Linked DNA regions of Homo sapiens: region 2 is linked to region 1. Evidence: promoter capture Hi-C in human tissues and cell types (Jung and others, 2019). All regions are on one chromosome and are shown on one strand. Each heading gives the region's core, a stretch centred on a gene start or on the middle of the fragment in contact. The rest is flanking DNA. Distances are from core to core; before and after follow the strand shown.

The links. The method cuts DNA at HindIII sites, captures the fragments that hold promoters and counts their contacts. A contact is called where the count stands out against the background at its distance.
Region 2: a fragment that was not itself captured here is called in contact with the fragment with the promoter of COL17A1 in region 1 in 1 of the 25 tissues and cell types used here (neural progenitor cells).

Annotation. Positions count from the first base shown.
Region 1 is chr10:104,084,152-104,087,622 of GRCh38, reverse strand. COL17A1 (collagen type XVII alpha 1 chain) reads left to right here and starts at 1,743. Exons shown (of 56, transcript NM_000494.4): 1 at 1,743-1,900. The HindIII fragment of the contact is 3,215 bases long and covers 1-2,285 here.
Region 2 is chr10:104,049,339-104,052,598 of GRCh38, reverse strand. It overlaps COL17A1 (collagen type XVII alpha 1 chain), which reads left to right. Exons shown (of 56, transcript NM_000494.4): 24 at 382-444; 25 at 1,083-1,118; 26 at 1,698-1,751; 27 at 1,943-1,978; 28 at 2,475-2,510; 29 at 3,128-3,190. Among named protein-coding and RNA genes, the nearest start is that of MIR936, 2.8 kb to the right of the region's middle. The HindIII fragment of the contact is 6,067 bases long and covers 1-3,260 here.

The DNA.
Region 1 (3,471 bases), core at 494-2,993:
GTCTCAGGAGAAATCAAACCTCCTGACACATTGATCTTGAACTTCTGGCCCACAGAACTGTGAAAAAATAAATTTGTGTTGTTTAAGCCACCCAGTCCGTCGTATTTTGTTATGGGAACCCTCACCGACTAATACATTATGTAAGGCCTGTCTTCCTCCATTAGACTGTGAACTCCATAAGCAGAGGGACTATGTTCATATTTCACCACCAAACTCTTAGCACATAGTTTAATGTCTGGCTCCAAGCAGGAGCCAATATATTTTTGTTTAATTCTTGAATTCATGAATAAAGAAATAAATGATGCAGGGGCATGTCTATTTTATGCTGAAAGCTCTGTGTGTTCTGGGTTCTTCAGTGTTCTTCTACTATGAAACTGACGGAAGACATATTGAGTATTTATTTGGGGAAGGCAAGAACATCCTACAAAGCAAGTGTCAAATTCTGCATAATTGAAAGGGTTCTGAAATGCACGACTCCAGTGTGGAATATGGGCAGCTTAGGAGCAAGAGCCCCACAGCTGTTGTTGTGGTCTGCTACCCTTCCATGGGATGCAGTGCCCACAATAGCAAGGTGCAGTTGCACATCGGTGCTATGCTGTAAGGGCCCCACTGCTCCCCTCCAGTATCTTAGGATAATGCCTCAGAACTGGGAATCCCAGTGTGATGCTGGGTCCCAGGAATGTGCTATGGCCTCAAAGGACTGCCTGAGTGAGTTCCAGGTTCAGACTTCCCATTTTACCAACACCAAGTGTCTCAAGCTAGTCTTTAGGCCCCCTGGGAAGCCAGATGCTATCCAGGTATTCATAAGAATTATCCTGATTGATGCAAGTTGACCCTCTAGGGAAATCTAAAGGTCCCCAGGATGTACTTGGAGTTGCAGGACATCTGGGAGCCCACACATGTCTTTAGGTGTATGGAGACTATGCGGTCACCTGATTTGAAGGACAAGAAGGTCCTTATCCCTTCCCAACAGCACCTCTCTCCATTATTAGGTGGCTAAATGCCTAAAATTCCATCACTAACATGTCACTCTTTTAGGTCAGCATCACTATATCTGGTTGCCTCTTTTGTAAAACGAACCCCTACCCCACCAATTGCTCAGTACATTCAGTCATTAGCATATTATGAATTAGTTCACCAACTATTTTCTCCAGATGGGCTTGACCTGGCTTGAGTCACAAGAGGGGAAAGAGGACAAAGACATCTATAGGGGAAACAAGACAAAGGACACAGGACACAGGAACAGAGGACGAAGACATCTATAGGGGAAACAGATCTTGAATATAAATCCTGCCAACTTCAGTTTTTCTAGGGCTCAGGCAGTATGACCACAGGCCATCCATGTGCCTAGACCATGCTCATCCATGAGCCCATCCACGTGCCTAGACTCATGAATCATGCAGTGGGATTCCAGTACCCATGGCACTGAGGAAGGGTACTGCCACAAAGTTGTGGCAGTTCTCCAGCTGTAGAAGGTAGGCAATAAAAAAGCATTTCCTTTATGCTGGTCCTTTGTTTCCTTTTCCCCATGGGCCTTATAAATAGTTAATCTACCTAAGCTGGAAGGAGAAGCTTTCTGCCTCCAGTAAAGTTTGATTCCTGGAGGCAGATTTTTTTTTTAAATCCAGCAAGTGTCAGATAATTGGAAGGGTGGAGTAACGCTGTAAACCATGACACACCTTTGTCAGGACATGTTTGGAAGCAAAGAGTTGAAAGAAACAAGGTGGAGAGAAAGAAAAGTGAACATTTTTGAAAGATCACTCAGCTTTAACACACCTTGGCTGGGTCTGGATAAAAAAAAAGTGAGCACTGCAAATTTCTAGAAGAAAACATCAGGAGAAGAAAGAGAGAGGGGGATTTATTCAAAGTTGTTTCCAATTCCTTCAAAACCTCAAACCAGGTAAGTAAACAGGAAGACTGACCTTTCTCCTTTTCTCTGAGACTTTGATTTAAGGTTTGCCATTTAGAAATTAAATGTTTATTGGAGAAAAGAAGATGAAGTTCTGTAGTTTCTAGCATTCTGGTTAAAGTGATCAATTGGTTATAAAAGATGACTTTGGTGTATGCATTCTGCTTAGGGTAGGTCTTTCAAAGGAAATAAGTGGGGAAAAGGAGAAGGCTGAAGGCTGGTTAAAATATAGCGGGCTTTAGAGGCAAGACCTTTCTGCATTGTTTTCAGCATTGTAAAATGACTTGTGTTGTTTTATTTAGAATATGATACGGGCTTATAATTCCTTCTCTCCCAATCTCAGTTTCCTCTCTCGCTATCTTGCTCTCCTCTTCCCTCTGTCTCTCTCTCCACTGGACGAAGAGAACAACTCAGGGGTGAAGTTAAAGTATAGGTAAGGGGGCCTTCTAGAAACAGTCCCTGTGCTGACTGGGCCTCTCTGATTAAGCCATACATGGTAAACATTGCTGTTTACCATGCTGTAAAATTACCTCTAATCTAAAGAAAAGTAGGATCTTTGAAATGATCTGATTAATTCAGAAATTTTGCAGGATCAAACTTAGAGGAATAAAAAAAGGAAGAAAATTGTTTCCCGTATATATACTCTTACGAGTCAACTTGGGTTTCCTCCTGCCAAAAAAATTCACTTTGAGATGAGAATTACCAGTTTAGATACCTAAGTGGATGACGTTAACTGGTAACTGACAAATTATCACTTTACTTTTTGAAGTGGAGGCAAAACCTCTGGCACATTCCTTCTTTTGAGAAGTAGTTAATCAGTAGTCTAATAGTGGACTTGTAAAACGTAGCAAGATTTTTAAAAGGTATTTATTTGAAAAGCAGAATAGTTTCTTCTTACCTCCATATGTTCTCTCTTAGAGCTAAGGCACAGATCTGTCAGAACTAACCTAAGACAGATGTCTATCCCCACACAGACTCACTCCAGAGATTCAGAGGTGTCCTGCTTTACTCTTAGGCCCTGCAAAACACCCACATGAGTCTGATCAGAGTTTACACAGGAACAATTAAAGTGAACAGCTCTGCTTCAAGCTTGCATAGAAACTTACCAGCCTGGGTAACATGGCAAAACCCTGACTCTACAAAAAATACAAAATTAGCCAAGCATAGTGGTGTGCGTAGTGGTGCACACTCATATTATACTAACCCCATCTCTACTAAAAATACAAAAATACAAAAATTAGCTGGGTGTGGCGGTGCATGCCTGTAACCCCAGCTACTTGTGAGGCTGAGGCAGGAGAATTGCTTGAACCCAGGAGGCAGAGGTTGCAGTGGGCCAAGGTTGTGCCACTGCACTCCCACCTGGGCAACACAGCAAGACTCCGTCTCAAAAAAAAAAAAAAATAGGAAAAAAACTCCTTAGATTGGTGAAACTGACCTGACCTAAGAACTAACCACCTTCTCAGATTATGAAAAACAAAAAGAAGTCTGTGTTTACATTGTTTGTTTCATTTGCCATTATTAACAGTGGCAGGACACAACTGTAAACAAACCAGCATAATCAC
Region 2 (3,260 bases), core at 17-2,516, 35 kb after region 1:
GCTGGGGAAGGTGTTGCAATTCCATCCTTAACTATGAGACTGCTTTTGTCAGGGGAAACCAAGACAGATACCAGAAGTCCTCTTAATGCTAACAGACTGTGAGCAGGAAGCTTTATTTTCAGCTTTACTTTCTCTTTAAAATATTGCTCAACCAGACAATAAAATTTATTGAGTGCCTACTAGGTGTCAAACTCCATAGACTATAAAGTCTCTGGGGGTAGAAGCTAAGGAGTTTTGCTGATAAGTGGCCTCACTGGGGCACCAAATGGATCCAAGACCACTAGCAGGGTGGGAAGCATCCCCTCCAAATGACAGTGCCAGGATAGGGGGCAGCCACACTGGGGCCTCTCCCAAAGTGCTCATCCCTCCATTTCTCCTCAGGGGCTGCTGGTGAACCAGGTCCTCATGGCCCACCTGGTGTCCCAGGTTCTGTGGGTCCCAAAGGTAAGTCCAGTGTGCAGGAAGGAATCAAAGTTTTCCAGAGGAGAAGCCACATTCAGGATGGATCACAGAGAAGAGGCCCTGGGACCCCAGACAGCCCTAACCCCCTGCCCCAGGCCTGTGCAGGGGTGGTGGGTGGGTCCAAAGAGCATCCCCCAGAAAAGCAGTCCCTGGGGAGTCAAGACTAGGGCTGTAAGTTTAGCCCCATAATGGGCTTGGGGCCATGTTTCCATCTCTCTTCAATGGCCCCGTTATGTGATCCCTAAGTGGGTGGATGGATCATTCAGGAAATCAGAAGTTAGACCATTTCCTTGACTGACTGCGGCCCAGATGCACACACCAAAAGTAACATGTCTGGGCAACCCAGGGAGAATGGGCCCCTTCTCAAAACCCAAATGTTCTACTGCCCCAGCCCAAATGTTCTACTCTGACCAGGAAAGAGCAAAGGGTAGTTTGATCCCACCCAGCTGCACCCCCTCCCTAAGGAGGACATGCACTGGGGTCACCCCTGGCCTGCAATACACTCACACAGCCCTCACCTGGAAGACAGCGTCCCTAACCCCCACCTGCCCTGCACCGGGGCCAGATGTCCCCACCTGTATCTGCCCCTCTGCTGATTGCTGTCTTGTCCTCCTTCTCAGGTTCCAGCGGCTCTCCTGGCCCACAGGGCCCTCCAGGTCAGTTTGCTGCTTCTTGTAAATAGGTTCTGTTTCCAGGGCAAAGGTGGCAATGTTAAAAGGAAAACCAAATATTTTTAAAGCCAAAGAAGCAATTATAAAGCAAGCCTCCTAGAGATATAGAATTCAAGTCTGCATGTGTGTCTCCTGTGGCAGAGGTTGGGCTCCCTGATATGTCCTGTCCAGATCCCTTCTGACCTGGCTTAGGGCTTGAGACCCTCCAGCAGCTTCAGCAATGGAAGTCCCCATCCTGCCTCCATCTGAGCAAGCACCTGCCTCTCTCTTGTCCCCTATGGCCACAGAGCTTGTCCTGCTGTCTTGAGAATCTTGAGCTGTGGCCAGTGCCTCTGCCAAGACTCGACAATGTGTTCTAATGCCTGTTCATCAGCAGAGGCAAGGAACCTGGGCCAAAATGACTTAAAAAGGACTTGGGAAGGAGTCCATGGAAAGCATCCTTTGACTTTTACTATAGGGTGTGTGCATATGTGTGCCTGTATGTGTGCATGTGTGTGCATACATGTCTCATCATTCCAAAGCTAGGGATACTCATCTGTGTGCATGGTTTCTTCTGCCGGGCAGGTCCTGTAGGTCTCCAAGGGCTCCGAGGTGAAGTAGGACTTCCTGGTGTCAAAGGTAAGCTGGAGGGAGGCCTGGGGGGACAGTGAGGGTCTGATGGACACGACCCACAGCCTATGCAGGCTGACAAGTGCAAGAGGGGAAGAAGAAGTCAGGATTGAGGGAGCCTGTCTTCAGAGACAGACATTGCCCCTTCCTGGTTGTCCCTTGTAGGGCATTTTACACCAAGGTGTCCATTTCCTTTTTAGGTGACAAAGGACCAATGGGACCACCAGGACCCAAAGGTATGCCACTCACTGCTGCTCTGTCATTACCAGGGCCTGCCTCACTCCTGGGAGCCCAGATGGGACCCTCACTGTAGGGTCTGAGGGTGCACAGGACCTGGACCAAGATCTCATTCTAATCCAACCTCTCAGATAGGGAAACTGAGGCACAAAGAAGGGAAACAAAGCACTAACATCACATTGAATTCTGGGGTGGTGAGTGTTTCTCGGGGTGGTGAAGACACAGAATTCCAAGGCATCTGACCTCTTGTGTCCATGGCACCAATTTGTGCAACAGCAGGGGCTGGGGAGTCAGTTTGTAGGGGGGGAACTGACTCTGCCAAAGATCAGATGTGCTCCTTTGGCTGCATTAATGCTGTGTCCTCACCAACATCCGCTGACAGGAGTTCACGGATACAGTGAGAACTACCCTGCAGCCGGGGACCCTGTTACTGGGTGAGAGTGTTTTCCTTGCTCACAACTGTGGCTTTTTCCACCTCCCCCTTGTTTGCTTTAGGTGACCAGGGTGAGAAAGGACCTCGAGGCCTCACAGGTCAGTCTGTCATGGGAATCTACTTTAATCTATCCACGACTTTTGTAAATCCATCAGTCACTAGGTTGGAAAAAATCCAGAAGTAAGAGACCGAATCTGTTTAAAACCCTTCAGGGAACTTGTGATCTAGAAAAAACACAAGATGAGAAAATAAAGCCTGGAGTGGAGGATAAGGAGGTATCCAGATGTATAGTCCAAACAGTAAATGTTTGGAGCAAAAAAGAAAGTGTAGGATTGTCTCTGATTCTTTTGGGGAATACAGTTGAGAAAATTAAGCTCTTCCCGAAGCAGCAGAAAGTTTGCACCCCGGTATCCTCTCAACCACTGACCTCCTGCCAACTGGCATGATTATAAAGGAAATTGACAGTGATAAAGCTGTGACTCAAGGGGTGGTTTTCAGTTTCCAAGGAAATAAGACTCATGCACATGCCCATGATTCTGATTAGGTGTGGTTTCTGGTTGAGCCCATGCCACTTCCCAGGGGTTCCAAGTGGCCCTGACCTTGGAATCAAAGCAGAAGCTGCTTCCTTGACCTCTTGGAGGAGGGAGCAGACCACCATTGTTAAAGCATACACAGCTTGCAAGTGTCCAACCAGCTAGTTCTTTGTCCTTTGCAGGCGAGCCTGGCATGAGAGGTTTGCCTGGTGCTGTTGGTGAGCCCGGGGCTAAAGGAGCAATGGGTAAGTGTTCCAAAGGAATGGATTCAGTGAGTTCCCCATCTGAGGGGTCACCACGACCCTGGAGAGATCC